Linked DNA regions of Homo sapiens: regions 1 and 3 are each linked to region 2. Evidence: promoter capture Hi-C in 16 types of primary human blood cells and fetal thymus (Javierre and others, 2016). All regions are on one chromosome and are shown on one strand. The core of a region is centred on a gene start or on the middle of the fragment in contact, and the rest is flanking DNA. Distances in the headings are between cores, read along the strand shown.

Region 1 (3,731 bases), core at 196-2,695, 500 kb after region 2:
TGGCCTTAAACACCTGACCTCAGATTATCTGCTTGCCTGGACCTCCCAAAGTGTTGGGATTACAAGCATGAGCCACCGTACCCAGCCACCTTTCTTCTTTCTGACTTGAAAAGTAGCATATTACATACCTTATCTGCACCTGCAGCAAGTGCTTTTGATATTTTATTGCCATGGATGTGCAGTTCTTAACCTCCCCTCCATCTTGGTCACTGAGTTAATTCAAAGGCTCAGCACCTGCAGCTTTGCAGCTCTTCTTCATTCATAAATGTAAGTGGATTGATAGTATCCTCTGTCATTCCCAAAGTGTTATTAGAAATGTCTCTTCATTGTTAGTGATAAGATCTTATAGTATTTCAAAGTACTTTCCCATTTATCATCTTATTTAATTTGATCTTCCCCAAGCCCCATGAAGTTGGTAGGACAGGTATTGTCCTTGTTTTTAAGGTAAGGAAACCAAGGGTAAAAGGTTGGCATTGTCACACGCCTGGGTCTAAGGACTGTCCTCTGTACCTGATGCCACTTTATTTCTGTTTTCCAAAAACAAAGGAGGAACTGCCTTCCATAGTTTTGTTAATACTTCTCCATATTTACCATATAAGTCTTTCATGGTTGTTAAAACTTTTTATTTTGGGATAATTGTGGATTCACATGTAGGTGTAAGAAATAGTACAAAAGGCTGGGTGCAGTGGCTCACGCCTGTAATCCCAGCATTTTGGGAGGCCAAGGCGTGTGGATCAGCTGAGATCAGGAATTCGAGACCAGCCTGATCAACATGGTGAAAGCCCATTTCTACTAAAAATACAAAAATTAGCTGGGTGTGGTGACAGGCACCTGTAATCCCAGCTACGTGGGAGGCTAAGGCAGGAGAATTGCTTGAACCTGGGAGGCGGAGGTTGCAGTGAGCCTAGATTGTGCCACTGCACTCCAGCCTGGGTGACAAGAGTGAAACTCTGTCTCCAAAAAAGAAGGAAAGAAAGAAAGAAAGAATACAAAGATCCTATGTACCCTTCACCCACTTTCTCCCAGTGGTATCATCTTGAACAACTGTAGTACAATATCAACAACCAGGATAGGATACTGACATTGACACAATCAAGAGGCAGAACAACTCCACTAGGAGGATCCCTCCTGGTGCTTTTATCTCCACAAGTCCCTCACTCCCCCATAAATGCAGGAGGCAGAGCCCACCCCCAGGCCCAGCTGTTGCTTCATTTACACTGACTAGACACACACACACATACACACACACACACACACACACACACACTTTTAATGTATTTTGAAATGGTGGTTTTATCAGGAAAGTCTAACACCTATAACAAGCAACCCCCAGTCTCTGTGGCTAACACAGTAACGTTTTATTTCCTGTGCTGTCAATTCAGTGGTGGTCATTATGGATGAAAGGAGGACTCTGCTTCTTGCAGAAGTTCTGGGACCAGCTTCTCTGTCTAATGGCTCCACCATTCCCTATGGCCTCAGCATCCTCCACTGCACCCTCTTCTTCAGGCCAGCATGGCAGGGGCCATAGGGGTCAGGCCCAGAAGTGGCATTTATCTCTCCAACACACAGAATTTAGTCATTTGGCTCCACCTCACTGCAGGAAGGCTGGGAAATTTGTTTGGGTATGCCTAGGAGAAAAAGGAAAAATTGTTGATGAGCACATGTTCAAGAATAATCATGGCAGTATCTCTAGTTGTAGTTGAAACTAGAAGAAACCCAAAAACCCAAATGTTCACTGACAGAGGAATGGATAAATAGTGTCAAATTTACATTATTATACAACTGTGAAAATGACAAACTGTATCTATACACAATAAAGACGAAATCTTAGAACCCTAATATTGACTGAAAAAAGCAAGTTCCAGGAGACACACGATAGAATTTTTATATAAAGAGCTCAAAAACAAGCAAAACCAGACAATCTGTCCATTTATTTATTAGGGATATAGAAATCTGCATTAAAGCCATGTTTCTAAAAAAGTGAAGGTGTCCTGGCCGCAGTGGCACATGCCTATAGTCCCAGCTACTTGGGGAGGCTGAGACAAGAGGATACGTTGAGCCTAGAAATTGAGTCTAGCCTATCAAGACTCAGTCTCTAAAAAACAACAAACAAAAATGAAGGAGTGATAAACAGGCATTTTAGGACAGTGATTATCTCTGGAGAGAGAGGCAGGGAGACAATGGAGAGAGAGGGATGGCAAGGTCGCTTCAGCTTGTGGCTCATGTCTTTGTTCTGAGAGGGAGCATAGATTCAGTCATGTTCTGTTTTTCTGCTGTGTTTCAGACCTTAAGTGTGTATTACAAGTATTCTTTGGTATGTGTCACATATTGCATAATTTTTAAAAGAATGAACCAAAACATTATAATTAGTAGTAATAAAGATAAGTCTTTATTAGTTCTAAGAATGTGACAAGGAACAGATCTATTGCTTGAGAAGGTAATTCTGATAAACTGGTTTTCCTAATGCTGTGGAGTTGACCCACACTGGGGTGGCTCTACCCAAGATCACAAATGCCGGCCCCCGTTGTTTGGATCAGCCCTCGTGCCCTGGTCTTGATCTTTTCTGGTCCTCCTGCAGTTTCCTTTAATTGCCTTGAAGTTTCCAAAAGTTCGTTACACTCATCCATTGACTCAATCATCTTCAGAATCCTAGTATGAAGTCTTGAGGTCCACTGTAGAGATTATTTGTCTGCGGAGAAATCCTACAAAGCTGTTATTGTGATCCTTGCCAATGAAAGGCAAGTTTTACATATCTAAATTTACTAAACACTATCCCTTTAAAAGTATCTCATACCTACAAAGATATAACCAAATCTAACATTTCAGCAAACAAAAGCTGAGGCTTGTAACCAACAGAAGTAATTGCTATACAGTTATCACGAGAAGTACATGCCCAGCTTCCAGGGTAACCACATTACTTAATAAACATATCAAATCTCTTTTATCTTAAAAGACCCAAAGAAACCACCCCAGTAATGGTTGCCAGCCCTGATCCATCCCTTATCTGTTGCTGGCAAACTGTCTGTAAATAGTCAATCCAGAACACTCCTCTAGGTTGTTTTTTCTTGCTCTCTCCCTTCCCCCTTCTCCTCTCCATCTTGGAAGTATTCGCCTTTGCAGTCTCCACCCTCTGTAGAGACTCTGTGCTCTCTGCACCCGGAATGAGTCAGCATGTGGATACATACCTGCATTTCTAGGGAAATGGACTGGGGTTATCAGAAAACTCAATCTGTCCAACCATGGATAAAAATCAAGACATTTTATTGCAACCCAGATAGTTAGCTCAGCAGCTGCACTCTGGAACATACAGTACAACTCCTTTGGGAAATACCTAGTTGGGAGTGACTTTCGGTCTCTTGGGTAAAATGTTCCCTTCTCATACAGCAAACCTTTTGTAAAAGGGAAACAGACTCCATCCAAACTGGGTGGTAACTGGAGATAAAGGCAGGCCACTCCTGTTTGAATGTTTGTCATTTTGATGAGGATTTTGTTTAACAAGGTTTCTACCTTATCTGTCTTCTTTCAGATTTACAGCTCCAGAGCCCATAAAAGGGAGGCCACAGATGTGAACATGGGCTGTGGAAAGATTAGAAACAAACTGAGGCTATTCAATAGAAATAATCTTGAGATATTTTGGATTTTTTCTTGTCATTTTTTTTTTTTTACATTGACAATGACATCAGGAGCTCTAATAGTATTTGACTGATAGTACTTAGTAGTACTTGGCCAAC
Region 2 (3,711 bases), core at 696-3,195:
CTGACCTCAGGTGATCTACCCTCGTCGGCCTCCCAAAATACTGGGATTGCAGGAGTGACCCACTGCACCTGGCTCTTTTCAAAAGCAAGCTTATACATTCTCCTGGATCCTGAAACTATTGACAATACTTAAAGTTAGTTTTTTTTTTTTTGCTATTTAAACATAAATATTGACATTTGTATGGTGCCTCTCACCTCAGATTCATTCATTCAATAGATATTTAATAGATGTAGCAGGCATTGTTGTAGGAACCAGGGATACAGCAGTGAGGGAATAAGCTGAAGTTCTTTTTTTTAATTAAAAAAATTTTTTTAGAGACAGGGTTTTGCTGTTGCCCAGCATTCTGGTAGCCAAAGACAATAGGGAAATCAACAAGTACACAAGTAATACTATTAATGGCAATAAGTGCTGTAGGAAAACATAAAGAAGAGTAAGGAGAATAGAGTTGGGGGCAGGGGCATGGAGTTTAAGAACTGCTATTTGGCTGGGCTAAAGTTAAAGTGACTTTCTAAGGGACAGAACAAGGACTAGAAATCATGTTCCTTGGCTTCCAGTCTTGTGTTTTCTTATAAATCCTCTAAAGGAAATATAAGAAACCTTATCCTCTTGAACATCTGAAGCTCTTTTTTGCCAATGCAAGGTAAGGAAGGATTTCGGCACCTGGAAGGTACTCAGTAGCTGGAGTCCGGTTATGGGAAGATAAATATCAAGAATGATTAGAAGGAAAAAAAGTATTATAGGTACTAAGGAGAAGGACGGTCTTAATTTAAAAAATTGAATTGTATTGTATGGAGAGCTGATTTTTTTCCTCCTCATCTTCTTTGTGATGGCACAGAGAGCTGAATTTTCTTTAAAACAGTTTTATTACTTTTTTTTTTTTTTTTTTTTGAGACGGAGTCTCACTTTGTCGCCCAGGCTGGAGTGCAGTGGCGCTATCTCGGCTCACTGCAACCTCCGCCTCCCGGGTTCAGCTAATTTTTGTATTTTTAGTACAGGCGGGATTCCGCGACGTTGGCCAGGCTGGTCTCAAACTCGTGACCTCAAGTGATCTGCCTGCCTCAGCCTCCCAAAGGGCTGGGATTACAGGCGTGAGCCATGCGATTAAATCTTATTTCACATCTGTAAGACTTCATATGTAGATACAAATCACGGATTAGGAAAAAAATCCAAAAGTCCTGATTATTAGTTGCGAAATGAGGTTACTGACGAGGTCCTTGGTGTTAGAGGAGCCCAGGTTCCTTACAGAGCCATGAAAAATTAATGATTGCAAACTGGTAGGTCCCAATGTCTACTGGGAAAGGCATGAGTCTTTGGAGTCAGATAAAATCTAGGTTTAAATTCTTACTCTGCCACCTGGTAGTTCTGTGATATTAGGCACGTGATGTGAATGCTCTCAATCTGTTATTTGGCTTCTATGTCAGGAACTGTGCTAGGTGTTTGGATACAGAAGTTTGAGATGCAAAGGGTCCTGCCCTCCTAGAGATTGGGATAACTAAGGAAAGGTGGGGTTCTTAATGCCGAAGGGACTCAGAAGAGTGAGAGTAAGGCTTAACCAGGCGGAGAGGGAGTTGGGTCGGGGGAGGCAACATTTTAAGAAAATATGCGAGGGGCTGATACGCTGGAGCGGCCGAAGTACAATACACAGTTGTTCTTGTGGGTCTAATGCAGGTGGTTGCGATTATTTCGTGAAACAAATATGGAAAGCACCTAACGCTGAAAGCACTTGACCCAGAAATAGGAGTCAGGGCCGGGGCGCGAACCCTGAGCTGTAAATCCCTTTCCAGAATGATGAGGATTCCAACCTCCAGCACGACAAAAGCAAAACACACTCGCTCTGAGAAACCGAGGAACGAGCCAGACGACTGGAGGCAGGTTCCAGGCGGGGGGCGTGGCCTCGGGCGACTGCCGGATGTCCTCTTCCAGAACCGGGCCGTGCCCCGGAAGCAGTTGTTGTTGGTTGGGGGCCTTTTGGCCGGTGACGGAGACTGCCCAGGTGTGGTCACCATGTTCCTCTCCGCGGTCTTCTGTAAGTGGGGCTGGAGACGCCGGTAGGGGTTACGGCGAGGGTTAGGGGGCCGTGACAGGCAGGGCCCCGGAATGATGCGGGGAAGGATGTGCGAACAGGACGGGAAGCTGCAGCTGCGTACTTTTCCAGGCCTTCAGGACCACAGCGTCCGGCATGCCCCGCGGCGCGCCTCCCTGCGCGGACCTGTGGGTGCCTGAGAAGGGGTCTGCGGTGTCTGGATTCAATTGCCGTCCTCACGGACCGTTGAGTCTGGCTGTGGGGCGTTTTTCTCCAGCCCGTGTTAGGAGAATCTTTGTCCGAAGGACCTCAGAATTTGCAGCCCACCTATTTCGAACTCTAAAAATAAGGAAACCGCTCCCGAGAGGGGCAATGAATTGCCTGAGTAATGCGGCAGGGCAGTTAAAGAAGTCCTCGGGCTCCCGAGTCAGTGCTCTTCTTTACCCTTGGCTGACTTCCCAGTTAGATTTAGTATCTGGTTTTCACCACATGTGATGGTTGTTGTAATTTGCAAAGGTTAAACTTGTCAAACAAGAAGCTTGCTGCAGCGCGAATACTTGCACCTTAGAAGAGGGAAAAAATGGAGCAGGTATTACTTTAGAAAGATTTAAAAGGTAGCCAGTCCAACAGTCATGAAATTATGCAAAATATTAAATCTAGAATTGTGTTGGTCTGATTGGATCTTTTAACCTTCCTTCTATAAAATCCTAAGGGGATCCCTAATAGATAGGGAATAGTTACTTGAGTGACACCTCATGGCATATTTCATAAGTTAAATATTTTTGGTTATTACTGATATTTATATGAACTTTGCATAAGAAAGAGAATACATTTATATTTTTATTTTCTTTTCCAACCCTTCCTGTCTACAAAAAAGTTGCCAAGAGCAAGTCAAAGTAAGTAAAGATTTTTCCTTTTTTAAACGTCACTTGTTTATGTTGGATTTGTTAGTCTAGCTGCTCCCAGTACATCCTTATATGAAATTAAGCATTGGGCCTTGATTTCCTAAGAGTTGGTTTGTGGATTACTTAGTTGATTATTTTTTCTTTATGAACTCTTTCAAAAATATTTTCCCTCCTGCTGAACTGAGCTACTTCTGTGAGCATTGAAATACTTGAAGGAACCTTTGCTGCTTTTCTAGTCCCAGGATTTGTGAGCTCACTGTCTGTTTCTAAACAAACCATTGGGCTGTGCTGTATTTGGACTACCACCATATTTCCATTTCCTCAAATCGAGGACCAGGGGCCATGTGTCTGGAGCTCACTACGGGAATCCAGAAGAACAAACTCTGCTTTGATTAAATCATAGTCTGTTTTAATGAGTTTTGTAATCCTTTGCATTCATGGTATAAGCATTTCAAAAATAGCCAAGATTAAAGATTCCATGCTGTACCAGAGAGACTAGAACTACCAAACTTGTATTTCAAAATAAATGTTGTAGACAATAACAGAAGATTTTGTGGTAAAAATAGGGAGGTTCTAAAGCAGCTTTTCCTTGCAACTCAAGACATTGAAAATCCTTAAAGCTAGTCTTTTGGATTAACGTTAATGAAAAACATGTATGTTAGCGCTTTCCCTCCCAGTATCTTTCAGTGATTCACGTAGCTTTCGCCACAGTCCAGTTATTTATGTCAAAATTCCCTGCCCCAGGGATCTATAGGAATCTCTTGCCTTTGGTTTCTGTAGAGG
Region 3 (3,492 bases), core at 727-3,226, 270 kb after region 2:
CTCCACAGTATTGTCAACAGTATATTAAAATATTTGTAGATTTCTGTCAAGTTGCACTTTTTGTCACGGCCAAGTAGCTCCTGTTGACCTAACTCTTCACAACAGCTCAGAGCTCCGAGCAAAATATAGAGCCATTTGCCTGAAAACACTAGAGAGTGATCAAAGCAGGCAGATACTGGATGGACATTGATACTTGGAAGAAGGGAAAGCAGAGCCTTGATATTATGGGATAGTATCAAAATGTTTAATATATAAGAAACGGGAGTCCTAGAAGGGGAAGAGAAAGGGAGAAGGCAGGAAAGTATTTGACAAAATAACACATTTCCAAATATGGTGAAAGACAGAAATTTACAGATTCAAGAAGCTCAACAAACCCCATCTGGGATAAATGCAAGGAAAAACTAAAACAAAACATTATAGTAAAAATACTGATAACCAGACATAAAGAGAAAATCTTAAGTAACCAGAGAAAAATTATGCTTTATGTACAGTTCCCTCTCACTGCTTTTCTTCTTTAGACTTTTCCTGCCTGGTGTTATTTATTTTTCCATGTGGTCTTTTGACTTAGCTTTAAAAAAAATTCCCTCCAAGTAATGAGCCCCCAACCCTAGATGGTTCATTTCCTCCTGGAATTTGCTCTCAGAGCACTGTGCCCTTTGATAGCATTTATCACAGGTTATAATTTATTTTATTTATTTTGTATTTTACATTCAGGGGGTACACGTACAGGGTTATTACAGGGTTATGTTGTGTGATGTTAAGGTTTTGGTTTCTATTGATCTTGCCACCCAAATAGTGAACATAGTACTCAATAGGAAGTTTTTCAGCTCTTGTCCCCTTTCTTTCCTCCCTCCTTCTGGAGTCCCCAGTGTCTGTTGTTCCCATCGTTATGTGTGTGTGTGCTCAGTGTTTAGCTCCCACTTATAAGTGAGAACATGTGGTATATGGTTTTCTGTTTCTGCATTAATTTCCTTAGGATAATGACCTCCAGCTATATCCATGTTGCTGCAGAGGACATGATTTTGTTCTTTTTTAATTTCTGTGTTGTATTCTATGGTGTATATGTACCACATTTTAAAAATCCAGTTCACCACTGATGGGCACCTAGGTAGTTTCCATGTCTTTGTTATTGTGAACAGTGCTATAATAAACATATAAGTGGAGGTGTCCTTTTGGTAGAGCGATTTATTTTCCTTTGGGTATGTACCCAGTAGTAGAATTGCTGGATCAAATGGTAGTTCTATTTTTAGTTCTATGAGAAATCTTCAAACTGCTTTCCACCTGCCTGAACTAACTTACATTCCCACTAACAGTGTTTAAGTATTCCCATTTCTCCACACAGGTTATAATTGATAGGAGTGATTATTTTGATTGATATCTGACTCACCTACTAGACTATAAGCTCCAAAAGGGCAGTGGTCCTGTCTCTTTTACTCACTAGATGCCTAGCGGAGTGCCTGACACATTTTAGGCCCTTAATACATACTCGTGAATGGATGAATACACCTTGAGTCTTGAGGTTGAGCTCTGTGACTCTTTGTTACTCTCTCAATAACTGTAGGCAAGTTTCTTGACTGTTCTAGGCCTCAGTTTTTTCATTTCTAAGTATAAATGAATTGTATCTACCAAGCAGGGTTTTGGGATAATTAAATGACATATCTTAGAAAACATTTTGTAAATTATAAAATTCTAGTTAGACTAACTTTGACTTTCCTTTTCACATTTAGTGTATATGTATGCATGTGCTAAGGAACAATCTCCAGATTTAGGCTCACTGGTTTTCAGAGTCCATTTGAAGAATCAGCCTTACCAGTTTGTCACCCAGCTAAAGTTATAATCACTTGAGTGTTTCTTAGCTTTTAGCTGTCTAAGTGGTAAGAGCAGTCAATTTCAGATAAAAGCTTGTTTGTTGACAAGGGAAGTGCCTCTAAGAAAGGAAGTAAAATTTTCCCTTACAGAACAACCTGAACTTGGACTCCATTCTGCACAAAATGTCTACCTGTCACTTCTAAAAGGAGAAGAAAACTGTCACAGCTGTGATTACCAAAAGCAAAGCTTAGACTTAATAAATTGCCAAAACTCAGAGTCTTGTTAGTTTAAGTTGCTTGCCAACGTACTATAACTTGAAAAAAGGAAAGATGCACATATTTATTGCTAATGCTGGGGAAATTGCCATTAAGACAGTTGGCAGAAAGGCTGACATTTTAACAGTCATAGGTTAGATAATTTTCTGCATCTATCCAAGAGAAGATTTTGACCAAGGACTGACAAAAAAAAAAAATCAAATTATTCTGTTCACTTGGCGGCATCTAAATGTCTCATTTTCAGCTTACAGGAAAGATTGCTGTGAAAGCAATCTTTGACATTACAACTGAGTGACCATAAATTGCTTGAATAGCTGTTGGAAATTCAAATATAAAACCACATGAAAAGTCATTATCTGAGGTAGAACAAGGATTTTTCACTTGTTTTGCTCTTCATTTACAGTTTATAACTTAATTTTACATTAAGATTGTTTTAAAATTATCATGTACTCAGTTTCACAGAAGATGATTAGCTTATAGGTCATAAGGAAAATCAGTGCCAGAATGAAAAACTGAATTCTTTTTTTTTTTTTTTTTTTTTTTTGAGACGGAGTCTCGCTCTGTCGCCCAGGCTGGAGTGCAGTGGCGGGATCTCGGCTCACTGCAAGCTCCGCCTCCCGGGTTCACGCCATTCTCCTGCCTCAGCCTCCAGAGTAGCTGGGACTACAGGCGCCCGCCACTACGCCCGGCTAATTTTTTGTATTTTTAGTAGAGACGGGGTTTCACCGTTTTAGCCGGGATGGTCTCGATCTCCTGACCTCGTGATCCGCCCGCCTCGGCCTCCCAAAGTGCTGGGATTACAGGCGTGAGCCACCGCGCCCGGCCGAAAAACTGAATTCTTGAGTCTTAGCGTTCAACATTTCCAGTGCTGTCAGAAACAAGTGCTGAGTTTTCTTTGTTCTTCCAATGGCAAAATAAGGAATGTATGATAGGCTTGAAAGTTGGCAATCATAAAGTGCTTTTTATGGTTTCCCAAATTCCCTTCATAGTATTGTTTCTTTTATTATGAATTTAGTTGTGTAAATCAGCCTGTTGCTGATAAACAAAAATTTATATTAGTCCTGGGACCAACATTTCTTTCAGTATGACATTAGTTGTGTAAATCAGCCTGTTGCCAATAAACACAAATTTGTATTAATTCTAGGATCAACATTTTGAGAAGGAATAAAGTAGGGATCATCTAAGAGTTTTTAAAAGAATGTGGGTCTAAAATAGCTGGTAGAATAAAAATACATTGTACAAGCTAAAATAGGGCAAAAGAGCTAAAATGCAGTGCATGGACTAAAATAACTAGCAGTTCAAATGAGTCCAAGTGCTAAATATGTAATTATCTTTCCTATTACCTTATATGTACAAGAGTTATTTTAACTTTTAAAATCCTACATTTCACTTTTGTTGTTGTTTATTT

The links. The method cuts DNA at HindIII sites, captures the fragments that hold promoters and counts their contacts. A CHiCAGO score of 5 or more calls a contact.
Region 1: a contact is called between a fragment that was not itself captured here and the fragment with the promoter of MRPL33 in region 2, in 1 of 17 cell types (M1 macrophages). The highest score is 5.4, in M1 macrophages.
Region 3: a contact is called between a fragment that was not itself captured here and the fragment with the promoter of MRPL33 in region 2, in 1 of 17 cell types (activated CD4 T cells). The highest score is 5.4, in activated CD4 T cells.

The regions. Positions count from the first base shown.
Region 1 is chr2:28,266,200-28,269,930 of GRCh38, forward strand. The region is part of intron 10 of BABAM2 (BRISC and BRCA1 A complex member 2); the gene reads left to right. LOC124907745 (a long non-coding RNA gene) reads right to left here. Exons shown (of 2, transcript XR_007086254.1): 1 at 3,186-3,731; 2 at 2,367-2,702. Among named protein-coding and RNA genes, the nearest start is that of BABAM2-AS2, 42 kb to the right of the region's middle. The HindIII fragment of the contact is 8,369 bases long and covers 1-3,731 here.
Region 2 is chr2:27,769,774-27,773,484 of GRCh38, forward strand. It overlaps MRPL33 (mitochondrial ribosomal protein L33), which reads left to right and starts at 1,946. Exons shown (of 4, transcript NM_004891.4): 1 at 1,946-2,026; 2 at 2,901-2,919. The coding sequence starts at 2,005. RefSeq lists enhancers at 1,588-1,707, 1,941-2,757, 1,998-2,127. The HindIII fragment of the contact is 2,472 bases long and covers 88-2,559 here.
Region 3 is chr2:28,037,691-28,041,182 of GRCh38, forward strand. The region is part of intron 5 of BABAM2 (BRISC and BRCA1 A complex member 2); the gene reads left to right. Among named protein-coding and RNA genes, the nearest start is that of MIR4263, 43 kb to the left of the region's middle. The HindIII fragment of the contact is 154 bases long and covers 1,900-2,053 here.